2 separate regions of the Homo sapiens genome follow, and region 1 is linked to region 2. The links are contacts of gene promoters, found by promoter capture Hi-C in blood cells and fetal thymus (Javierre and others, 2016). All regions are on one chromosome and are shown on one strand. Each heading gives the region's core, a stretch centred on a gene start or on the middle of the fragment in contact. The rest is flanking DNA. Distances are from core to core; before and after follow the strand shown.

Region 1 (5,897 bases), core at 1,331-3,830, 9.6 Mb after region 2:
AAGGGGCCGCCGAAGCCGCCGCCGCCGCCGCCGCTCGTCGGAACGCTGAGCCCAGTGCAGCCGTGCGGCGACACGGGCGAGAAGCTAGGGAAGAAGGCCGGGTTCATGGACGACGGCAGCCCGGGGTAGAAGCCGTTCTCTGAGTCGGGGCTGGGCGGCGGCATGGCGCTGAGCGAGCCGCCGCTGCCGCCGCCCGGGGTGGTGGCAGACGAGCCGGGCGGCTGCGGCTGCGGCTGGGGCGGCTGCTGGGGTGGCGGCGGCTGCTGCTGCGGCTGGGTCGGCGGCGGCTGCTGGGGCTGGGGTGGCGGCGACGCGGTCTGCACCGACCAGGGGGTGCCGAAGCCGGGCAGCGGCGGCGGCGACGCGGAGCCGCCTCCCCCTCCGCCTCCTGGGGGCCCCCCGCCCCCGCCGCCGCCGCCGCCGCCCGGGTGTGGAAGGTCCGGGCTCTGCAGGCTGCTGAAGGCGCCCGCGCCAAGCGCACCTCCGGGCAGGAGGTTACTGGGACTGTTGAGCAGAGGGTGGTTGGGGGACTCCATGGAGCCCGGCGCGGGGTTCACCGGCGTCGAGGAGGCCAAGCCCGCATTGGGGGACTCGGCGGCGCTGCCCTCGCCCGCGGCTGGGGTCTTGCGAGGGCTGCCCGCGCCTCCGTGGCGGCGCCGCGGGGCTGCAGGCGGCGAGGGAGGGAGCTGCGGGAGCGGGGGCAGGTCTGCCGGACGCTGCCGCGGGGCGAAGTCCTGCGGCGAGAGGTGCTGCTGATGCAGGAGGCTGAACTGCTGCGGCGGCTGTTGCTGCTGGCGCTGAGCGAGCTGCGCCGGCTGGAGGAGCGGGCCGGCTGGCGGCGGCGGCGGGCTGAACCGACCGGGGCAGTGGAGCGGCGGAGGCGGCGGCGGCGGCTTCGAGTCCGGAGGGTGGGGAAGGTGGGGAGGGCTGAACTCTTTCCTCTTCTGGCTGCTCAGCTGCTGCTGCTGCCGCTTACTGAAGTCCTGCGGGGAGGAGGTGCGGCAGCAGCAGCAGGAGGAGGCGGAGGAGGAGGAGGGGTGGTGCAGACTCGGTTTGAAGTCCTGGGAGGGGAGGAGGTGGGTCACACCCGCGATCGTGCCGCCGCCGGGGTGGTGGTCGGGGAGTTTCTCCGTGGCCGCCGCCCCCGAAAGCGGCCGCGCCGGCTGCTGTGTCAGCCCCAGAAGCAGCTCATCCTGCATGGTCTGCTGATGCGCCAGGAACGGGGAGGAAGAGGAAGCGGCGGCGGCCGGGCTGCCCGCGCCGCCGCCGAGGGGGACGGAGAAGGGGGAGGCGGCCTCTAAGAAGCCGGTGACAGGCAACGGTGGTGGCGACAGTGGGCCGAAGGGCGTGGCGGAGGGCAGCGGGTTGACGGACCCCACGGCGTAAGGACCATACGCCTCGCCGCAGAACAGGGGCCCAGGACTGCTACTTCGGAGCGGGGCGGTCTGCAGCACCCCAAACCCGAAATCCCTCATTTATCAGGCCGCCGGCAGCGGGAGGAGACGCTCCTCGTCCCCTGCCCCACCTAGGAAGCCGCCGGCGCTGGGGTTGCGCGGCCGTGGTGGAAGGAGGGGGAGTCAGTGAGAGAGGGACACCGTGACTGAGCCAGGGGGCACCGACTTCGGCCCCACCACCCCTCGCGGCGATCGCCGCCGCCGCCGCCGTCGCAGTCGCCGTAGCCGCCCTGGCCGCTTAAGAACCCCGGAACGTGCGTCAGCGCCACCTCACAATCGCGCCGCCCCCCGCGGTGCGTCCCGGCACGCGCGGGCGCGAGGCCACCGCGTCCCCGTCGCCCCTCCCCGCCCCTCATTACTATGCAGACGCAGCCGAGGGCGCGCTCGCGCTCCCGGGAGGGCGGGAGCGAGCGGCGTGTCCCGTTGGGTCTCTCCGCTCCCGGGGAAATGGACAGGCCGGTTGGGGTGGGGGTCGGCTGGCAAACAGTGGTCGGGAGCATTGGGCGGGCGCGCGCACGAGGGCAAGCACGCGCGGGAGGGAGGGACGGTTCCTGGGCAACGGCCCCTCCTTGGCGCGGGATCCGCGCAGAGTCTGCCTGGGTCGCACGCGTCTCCGCCCCTCGCGGTGCCTCCTCCTTCCTGTCACCTCGGTTCCGCCCTGGGTGGGGAGAAGCCCTGCTGCACCACTCGGGCTTCCCAGAGCGGGGCTGGCCCGCGGGGGAAACTGAGGCCCGGGACCCCGACCGGCGCCTGCACTGTGCGACCCGCGTAGAAATAGGCGCCCGAGGGGCCCCCAGCGCAACGCGGGAGCCCGGCCCAGCCCGGGGGTCCTGTGGTGAACTAGCGTCTGGGCTCTGCCGGCTTGAAGTCCGCTGAGCGCCTCGCCGCGCACCTCTAGACCCCGAGTCCCCGATCTAGGGCCTCCTTGTAGCCCTAGGTAGCGCCCTCTAAGCTTGTTTCTGTTTTTAGGCGCTGGTAGGAGTGCTGTCACCGACGTCGTAGAGCCGCCGAGGGTGTTTCTGTAGGGTAAACATGAAGCCTCGGCTATATTCCAGGCATTTTCACTTGGGTAAGAAGGAACAAAGTCCCTGGAACAAACACGCTCCGCGTGGTTATTTACACACTCGGATGCGTGGAACGGGTTCCACGGCGAGCTCCCATAGTAACCCCGGGCCAGCTCCGCTTCATAAAAGCCTTTCGTGTGCCATCAGGGCTGCAGCGTGGGACTCCTCCCCACCACATTCATTCCGGCGTCCCCGCCCCTTCCCCCCAGGGAGACTCTAATTTATTCCTAAGCTTTATGAATTTTCAAGGGAGAAATAGTTCTTACATCAGGGAAAAAAGGAGGTTCTGACTCAGCAGCAGACTTGTTGAGACTTGCAAAATGGAAGGGAGAGAGCTTTCCATGGTAGAGCTCTTTAGAAGCATTAGAGGAGGAACTAATCCTGTGTTTCCTTTTGTATAGAAACATTTTACATAAAGTATTTGAAGGTCTAGATAAAGAATAACAGAGTGATCCATACTACATGATGAGGTGAACTTTATGTTTCTGTTTTGTAATTTTAACTGTTTTGCTTGATGCTTAGAGAAATGAAACTATTAAATGAATCCTAGAATATAGACTCAAACCCCCAAAGCAATAGAAGGTGGATTCAGACTTTACTTGATTTTGGTTTACAAGTGAACTAAGATTAAATATTTAATTTTATAAATTAGCATACTCTTACTGATGTAGGCAGAGTGTACATTTTTATAAGTCCTCATTCTCTATTTGAATTCTACTTCTGTTCAGTGTCTCAAATTTATATAAATCGAAATAAACATGGTAGAAAGAGAGCAACATTGCCCCAGGGAACTATACTTCATGTATAATGTTTATCTCTGCTATCCTGTCCAATGAACCAAGTTTTATGTTGCCTTTACAATAAGGAAAAAGTACTTTTTAAAAAACTCAAATGGTTCAGAATTTGGTCAGGTGAATAGAAAATTGGTTCAACTTATTAATCTCAAAATCATTTTTAACAGTCAGGCAAAATGTAGAACTGGAGAAGTATTTTTATTCTAAATTACAATGTCTAGAAAATAACCTGAGCTCAGAATTTAAAATATAAATGGTTATTTTCAGAGTATATATTGACATATTAAATATTCATTTTTTAAAAGGTATTGTGCAGGAAAAAAAACTACTTCTGCAACTAAGGAATGTAAAGTCTTAACAACGGATGATTTTTTTCCAAGTACAGTTGTATTTGATTGGAATCATTTGCAGATCCAACAACAAATCTTGAAATAGGGGGAAAATACAGGTATAAACCTTAGCTCAATTATCCACTAACACCGCAGTTAGTAAAGAGGAGAGAGCACATACTTTTAAAAGCTAACTGGTGCCTTTCTGGGCTAGAGTTTTGAACAAAAACAAGATTTCTTAGTGCTCTGGTACTAGTTTTGTCTTAGAGGATTTAGAGCTCTCTGAAACGGGGAAAAGCCATCAAGTTTGTTATTACATAATAATGTCAAACTTCATATTAAATACACCAAATTCCAAATCCTGCCAGGGCCTCTACTCACTACTTTTGTGAGGGCCCCATTTTTTTAGAGCAGAAAGTTACTTTCTGACATCTTGTAAGCTGGTGATCTTGCCCTTATTGAAAATATTCAAATGAAAAGGTTTCCTAGGGTGGAGAGTGGAGTGGGGTAGGGAGAAGGAGCAGCAAATACTGAGGAGGGACTATGGTCCTCTAGCAGTTTCCATGCCAAGATCTTATGAGTCCATTCAATGATTTTTTTGGTTTTTTACATGAAAATATTTTGACTCATGATCATTAACTAGGACCTTGACTTTGTATTTGACAGTCCCTTATTCATTTACTCCCACTGTCCTGGGCAAGTATTTTTAAAAGTATTTTTGCTACAACCCAATATATGTGCAAGTACACACTCATGCAACTGAAATAAAGCTGCTATTAAGCAATTCTTTTAATAATGCAACAAACTCCTTTTTATAATTCTATTTTCATTTTAAAATCACGTTTGATCTCAAATTACAAAGTTGGTTTTAACACCCTCTATCAGATTATGAACTGAAAAACCACTGTCCTAGACCATTTCAAACATTCTGCTCAATCTGAAAACCTCTTGTCACATCTCTCCTACATGCATCTGCTAGCATGTAGCACTCTCAGCTGCTGAGCTACATGCTTATTTCACTGAGAAAAAAGAAGCAACCACAGGAAAACTTCCACAGTCTCCCTGCATCTGTCCCTGCACACCTTGCCTTCCCTCTCGATACAATGGATGGCCCATCTGCCCATACTCCTGTCTAAGGCCAGCCTCTCCACTGGCGGAGCAGATCCTACCTCTAACCTACTCAAGACATGGGCTCCAACAGTTTTCTCTCTCTGTCCTTCATCATGACCTCTTTCCTCTCCAGGAAACACTTCCATGTGCACAAAAACTTGCTTTACTAGTTCTCACCTTTGAAAAGTAAAGCCAAAACCTTTTGACCTTATATTCTCCCTCCTTTAGCTACTGCCTTCTTTTTCTGCTTTTACATTGCCTGAACGACTTGCCCATTTGACTGAGTGTCTCATAGATACCTCAAATTAAACACGTCAAAAATTAAACTCCCTGCCTCACTAGGCCCAATCCCTGTGGCGCTCCATTGTTCTGGTTGCTCAGGCCAAAAACCCTGGAGTCATTCTTCACTTCAATCCACTTCTGTCCTTCTTGCATCATATCCAAGCCATCAGAACATGTTGCTTGTCCTACCTTTAAATTACTGGCATAACCTAGAGATACCGTGGGTTTTGTTCCAGATTACCACAATAAAGCAAATATCCCAATAAAGCAAGTCACACCAATTTTTTGGTTTCCCAGTGCATGTAAAAGTTATGTTTACAGTATATTATACTCTAAACATAAGTTCTCAATTATAGTCTAAACATAACTTGTAATTACATTTAAATAAGTGCACAGTAGCATTATTCTGAAAAATATACACACATTAATTTAAAAATACTGCTAAAAAGTGCTAATGATCATCTGAGCCTTCAGTAAGTCATAATCTTTTTGTCAGTGGAGAGTCTTGTCTCGACATTCATGGCTGCTGACTGATCAGCATGGTGGTGGCTGAAGGCGGAGGTGGTTGTGGCAATTTCTTAAGACAAAGATAGAGTTTGTCACATAAATTGAATCTCCCTTTCATGAAAGATTTCTCTGTACCATGCAATGCTGTTTGATAGCATTTTGTCCACAGAACTTCTTTCAAAATTAGTCAGTCCTCTCAAAACCTGCTAATGCTTTATCATCTAAATTTATGTAATATTCTAAATCTTTTTTGTCATTTCAGCAGTGTTCATAGCATCTTCATGAGGAGTAGATTCCGTCTCAAGAAACCACTTTCTTTGCTTATCCATGAGCAGCAACTCCTTCTCCATTCAAGTT
Region 2 (5,797 bases), core at 308-2,807:
AGATCACTTGAGGTCCGGAGTTCAAGACCAGCCTGGCCAGCATGGCGACACCTCGTCTCTACGTCTCTACTAAAAATACCAAAATTAGCCGGGCGCGTAGCCGGGCGTGGTGGCGGGCGCTTATAATCCCAGCTAGGAGGGAGGCTGAGGCAGGAGAATGGCTTAAACCCGGGAGGCGGAGGTTGCAGTGAGCTGAGATTGCACCACTGTCCTCCAGCCTGGGCGACAGAGCAAGACTGTCTCAAAACAAACACACAAACCCCTCATCAGTTGCAATATTTAAGTTGCATTTAATCCTAGCAATTGCAGTCCTGAGATTTGGATAAGAACCAGAGTATGGTCTTCCAGGGCAGCCAAACCAAGCCATTCCATGAACAACAGAGATCACCCTGCTGCAGATGGTCCACAGATCTTTTCTTGTGCATTTCTTCTGGGAACAAATGCAACTGAGGAAGCAGACATATTCTAGGGGGAGAGATCCACAAAAATCCTTAGAGTCATCTTGCCCCACCTCCTTGTTATGGCTTTAGGTACAGCCCTTATGGCTAGGAGATGTAACCTTCCTCAGCCTTTGCGTCTACGTCTACAAAATAACAACTACCTTGCAGGGTGTTATTTAACACTGCGAAAGTGCATTAATAGGCACAGAAAAACAAAAAACAAAAAAGCAAATTGTGCCCTCACTGCGAATTCTCTGTATTCTAGTTAAAAACATCTATAGCTTGGGTGCATGGTGTCCGTGCTGGGCAAGAAAAGGGCAAAATAGATCATGACAAGCCTTAACATTTTCTCACTTCAGTTTCCTCACTGCAATTGATTTTTTTTTTTCTTTCAAGTCGGAGTCTTGTTCTGTCGTCCAGGCTGGAGTGCACTGGTGTGATCTCGTCTCACCGCAACCTCCGCCTCCCAGGTTCAAGCGATTCTCCTGCCTCAGCCTACCGAGTAGCTGGGATTACAGGCGTACGCCACCACGCCCAGCTAATTTTTGTATTTTTAGTAGAGACGGGGTTTCACCGTGTTGGCCAGGCTGGTCTCGAACTCCTGACCTCGTGATCCACCCGCCTCGGTCTCCCAAAGCGTTGGGATTACAGGCGTGAACCATCGCGCGGCCCCTCACTGCAACTGAGGGTAGCGCAGTGGCCGCAAGTTCCAGATCTGGAGTTACTAAATAGCTGGGTTCCAATCCCGGCTCTGCCACTTATTAGCTGTACGATCTTCATTCGTTTCTCAACCTCTCTGGGTCTGAGATTCCCTTAAAGCCGGGGTAATAGAAATGAATAGGATTTCCTAACTAGGACTAGACTTTCTCAATTTCTTGACTCAGAGGGGCAAGGATAGCCTGAAATGGAAAGTGAAGGCCTTCAGGTTCTTCCTAACAGCCGCTCCGAGGAGGGGAAAGCTACAGGAAGAGGGAGGAGACCCAAGAAAGGTCGGACCAATGAGGCAGCGGGCGGGACAGGAGTTCCCGCCTTTGGGCGTCGTGCGCGCGCACCTCGCTCACACGCACACTCGCACGCACGCACGCTGCGGAAGCGCGCGCGCGCGCAGGCCCAGCCCTCGTCGCCGCCGCCATTTTAGCTGTTGGTTCCGGCCGCACCGTGTGGGCTGTAGTAGCGGGAGGGGTGGGGGTCCTCCAGAGTTAAGTGGCTGTCCTCGACTGTGCCCATACAGCAGCCAGCTTTCTTCCTTAATAACTGCCCGTTCGAAGAGTGCGAGGATGTCCAAGCGGCACCGGTTGGACCTAGGGGAGGATTACCCCTCTGGCAAGAAGCGTGCGGGGACCGATGGGTAAGCCAGGCCGGGGGCGCGAGGCGGCAGCTCGGGCTTTGTTGGGGTCCTGGCAGGGAGCGGGCCGGGGCTGGCCTGGCCGAGCGGGTCCTGGAGCCCGAGCCTTTGTTTCTCTCTGGGCTGGGTTCACTAGCGGCGGGTAGGAGAAGCGCGGCGCCCGTTCGGCCCGGCAAGGGCGCGGGGGGTTGCGTGCGACGGGGCCGCTGCCCAGCCCAGTCCGGAGGGTGGAGAGGCCTGCAGTAGCCATGAGGGCGCCTCCTCCCCCAGGCCGAACCGAGCGGGAGTCATTTGCGAGGGCGTCGGGCGGGAGTGAACCGCGGACCTCGTGGCCTCGGTTCCCGAGGAAGGCCTGGAGCCGGAGGAGAGGGTGGGGGAGGGCGCGGTGGGAGTATTCGCTTCCAAGGGCAGCAGGCACTTCCCAGCCAGAGGGGCCGTGGGGAGGGCCTGGGTGGGGGCGCGGCCAGGCACTCCAGACGGGAAAGGCGGAGGGCGGAAAGTGAGAGCAGCGCGTGGATCATAATGTAGGCTGGGATGGGGGTGGCGGGAGTTGAGAGAAGCCAGCAAATAGGGAGTTCTCGGGGGAGGTGGGAGTAGAGGACCTGCCGGGAGAAAGGAAAACGTGGAGTAATATACCTGATGGGCTGGAAGGCTGGTGTTTTGGGGCGACTGAGTTTATAGTTTGGCGGGAGAGAGCGTGCCTTGGTCCATTCAAACACTTCAAAGTAGATACTAGCAAACTTCCGCTCTCTGCCTACGCTCCCGCCATCTCCTGTATTTCCTGCTTTGGTTAAAACTGGTTACTGAACATCGTCCCATGGGGAGGGATTAGAAGGCATTGTTTTTTTTTTTCATCATTTATTTTCTATGCATGTCCCACTTTTCTTCATAAGTAGCTTTTGAAATACAGGGATCATGTTCAAAACGTGTTTTTAGTATTTATGGCGAAACACCGCCCATGTGGAGGTTGAGAGTTGAAATACTTACACAAACTCTTGGTGTTCCAGATTCCTTTCCTTAAAGGTACAGAGGAATTTAGCAGTTAATTTAAGCAATTTCGTGAAAATCATTTCTTGTCCCTTGTGTGTTTTCATTGATGAAGTACAAAGACCTGTTTGGATAATTCAGGCAAAACCCACAAAAGCCCGAGTAGCCAAATACTTTGCATAATTGTATCATTTTATTGTGTACTTGTGATACAGAATCACTGTGTCAAGTCACCTGTATAGCTGTTTTGAATTTTTCAGCTAAAGTTCTTCATTGAAATTGATTTCCAGGGATATGTTTAGTGTCATTGTAGAGTATAAGCCAGGATAGGGTGTACTTTTTGAGGCTTTGCCATATGTTGAATTATTCAATAGAAAGCAAAAGCATGTCACATTTTAATTTTGTGAGTTATTTAGTTTACGATATTAGGCATTGTAAAAAAGACAATGACATTGTAAGACAGACTCTCTTTAGGCTATCACCCTCCCCCACCATTACGCCCCACAAAACGTTAATACCTCTGAGCTGTATGTCACAGACTCAGAGCTGGAAGCAACTTAAAAAAGACTATACGCGGCTCCAATCAAGGAATGAGAAGTGGAGAACAGAGTTAAGGTGGCTTGTGCAAGTTTACAGCAGGATCTGGAACCCTGCCTTTGTCATTTTCACTCAGCAGCACACAGTTCAGTACTGTAGTTAAGAGTCATTACAGCCTATTTTAATGACATTTATAATGCGTTGGTAAAGTAGGGAACACTTAGTTCTTGATTTCTCTAAGGCAAAAATAAATTGCTGTCATCTGGAACTGATGTCTCTCACAGGAGGTCAGATTGGAACAAAATATTCTGGGAGGGAATGAATGAATTCATTTGTATTTGTGCATATGTGCACCATTTAAAATGTTCCCCTTGGGATTAGTGGTCCCACCATATGTATGTGCGATTGTTTACTTTCTCTTGCAAAAACAGATATCCTTAGTAAAAAGGTTGACTTTTGGAGTCTAATGGTAGCTTTATGATTCCCTTGTATATTATTTAGAATTTGCCTATGGATAAAGGAGAGTTCATCTTTGGAATAATGCCCAAGTTATAAGAAATAGTAGAGGGAAGTTTTTATACTCATTTCTATGTCATTTGAGTGCCATTTATCCTTGAACTGGTTTTATTTAACAGTGGACTTAAGGTGTTTATCGGCCTCAGAATTTTTTCATACTCGATAATTTTAAGTCACTTGTTGACTGCCATGCAATCCTGCAGATTTTTTTTTTCCCTGATAAGCAAGTGGTTTTATTGGAGAGCATAAGCTTGTCAGTCTTACAAACTCCACTGCCAGATAGGGTTTCTGCAGTACTGAGAAGGGAAGGTAATTCAGTGGGAGATTTCACTTATATTAATGCTCCCAAACTATATAAGGCTTTATTTACTCCTGGCATATTTTAACTTTGAAATCAGGTGAAGTTATTATAGGTTTCTGTTGCATATTCTGGCCTCATTTCTTCTTTTTGTCAACCCACAGAATCTTCACTATACAATTACCGAAAGTAATAATTTTCCATACTTACTGTTGAAGTATGGAAAAAAGTTTTCGATGTTAGGGGCGTTTTTCATTTTGATGTTGGTTTTTGATATTACCACCTGATAAGAGTTTTTTCTGTTAATTATGGGAAAGTAAAGCTAATGTATTAATACTGTGATAACATTTGTGGAGCATGCACATTTTCACTACAATCCTGTATGGTAGATGAGGTTAAATGAACTTGCCACAGGGAACATAAGAAATGTTTATACTCAAAGGTTTAAAGAAGGCATTCCCTAAAATCTTCATCTCCATCTTTGGATAACAGTTTTTGGTGAACATTTTCTAAGATCTCTGCATATTGACTCAAAAATATGAACTATAAAATTTAATATCAGTGGGATCAACGCGTGTTATTTTGTACTTTGATTTTTTTTTCCACTCAGAAATGTCATTAACTGTAGGTACACATTACGCTTTTAAATTGGCTGCCATAGGCCGGGCGCAATGGCTCACGCCTGTAATCCCAGCACTTTGGGAGGCCGAGGCGGGTGGATCACGAGGTCAGGAGATCAAGACCATCCTGGCTAACACGGTGAAACCCTGTCTCTACTAAAAATACAAAAAATTAGCCGGGTGTGGTGGCGGGCACCTGTAGTCCCAGCTACTCTGGGAGGCTGAGGAAGAATGGTATGAACCCGGGAGGCGGAGCTTGCAGTGAGCCGAGATTGTGCCACTGCACTCCAGCCTGGGCAACAGAGCGAGCCTCCATCTCAAAAAAAAAAAAATAATAAAAAATAAATAGATTGACTGCCATAGTACTCCAGTTGTAAAGGTATGACATCACTTATTTAACCAATATCCTGTTCATTGATATTTAGGTAGTTTTCCACTTGTTGCTATTTTATAAATGAGAAGTTTGATGAACATCCTTATACATACGTATTTGCACACATCCTTGAGAGGTTCCTGGAAATAAGATTGACGGATAAAAAGCAGTGCTTATTGCCGGGTGTGATGGCTCACACCTGTAATCACAGCACTTTGGGAGGCCTAGGCGAATGGATCACCTGAGGTCAGGAGTTCAAGACCAGCCTGGCCAAGGTAATAAAACCTATTTTTGTCTCTGTTAAAAATACAAAAATACACTGGGCATGGTGGCGCACTGCTGTAATCCCAGCTACTTACTCCGGAGGCTGAGGCAGGAGAATTGCTTGAACCTGGGAGGCAGAGGTTGCAGTGAGTCGAGATTGCACCACTACACTCCAGCCTGGGTAACAGAGGTAGACTGTCTTTAAAAAAAAAAAAAAAAAGCAATGCTTATTTAAAATATCATGATTTTGATGACCAGTTAATGTCTTCCTTAGCAGTACTTCAGTGCCTGTTATTATTCCATGTAGAATTTTTTTATTTTTTAGAGACAGGGTCTTCCTCTGTTTCCCAGGCTGGAGTGCACTGGTGTGATCATGGCTCACTGCAGTCTCAAATTCCAGGGCTCAAGTGATCTTCC

What was found. Contacts are between HindIII fragments. The CHiCAGO score rates a contact against its expected background, and 5 or more counts as called.
Region 1: a fragment that was not itself captured here is called in contact with the fragment with the promoter of DHX15 in region 2 in 1 of 17 cell types (non-activated CD4 T cells); the score reaches 7.8 in non-activated CD4 T cells.

The regions. Positions count from the first base shown.
Region 1 is chr4:14,998,252-15,004,148 of GRCh38, reverse strand. It overlaps CPEB2 (cytoplasmic polyadenylation element binding protein 2), which reads right to left and starts at 1,668. Exons shown (of 12, transcript NM_001177382.2): 1 at 1-1,668. The coding sequence starts at 1,475. CPEB2-DT (CPEB2 divergent transcript) reads left to right here and starts at 2,104. Exons shown (of 8, transcript NR_038857.1): 1 at 2,104-2,211; 2 at 2,424-2,523; 3 at 2,920-2,988. RefSeq lists silencers at 210-419, 520-669, 720-1,029, 1,530-2,389 and an enhancer at 2,630-2,679. The HindIII fragment of the contact is 344 bases long and covers 2,409-2,752 here.
Region 2 is chr4:24,580,314-24,586,110 of GRCh38, reverse strand. DHX15 (DEAH-box helicase 15) reads left to right here and starts at 1,557. Exons shown (of 14, transcript NM_001358.3): 1 at 1,557-1,788. The coding sequence starts at 1,718. RefSeq lists an enhancer at 1,119-1,658 and silencers at 1,839-1,958, 1,969-2,048, 2,249-2,298. The HindIII fragment of the contact is 7,218 bases long and covers 1-4,077 here.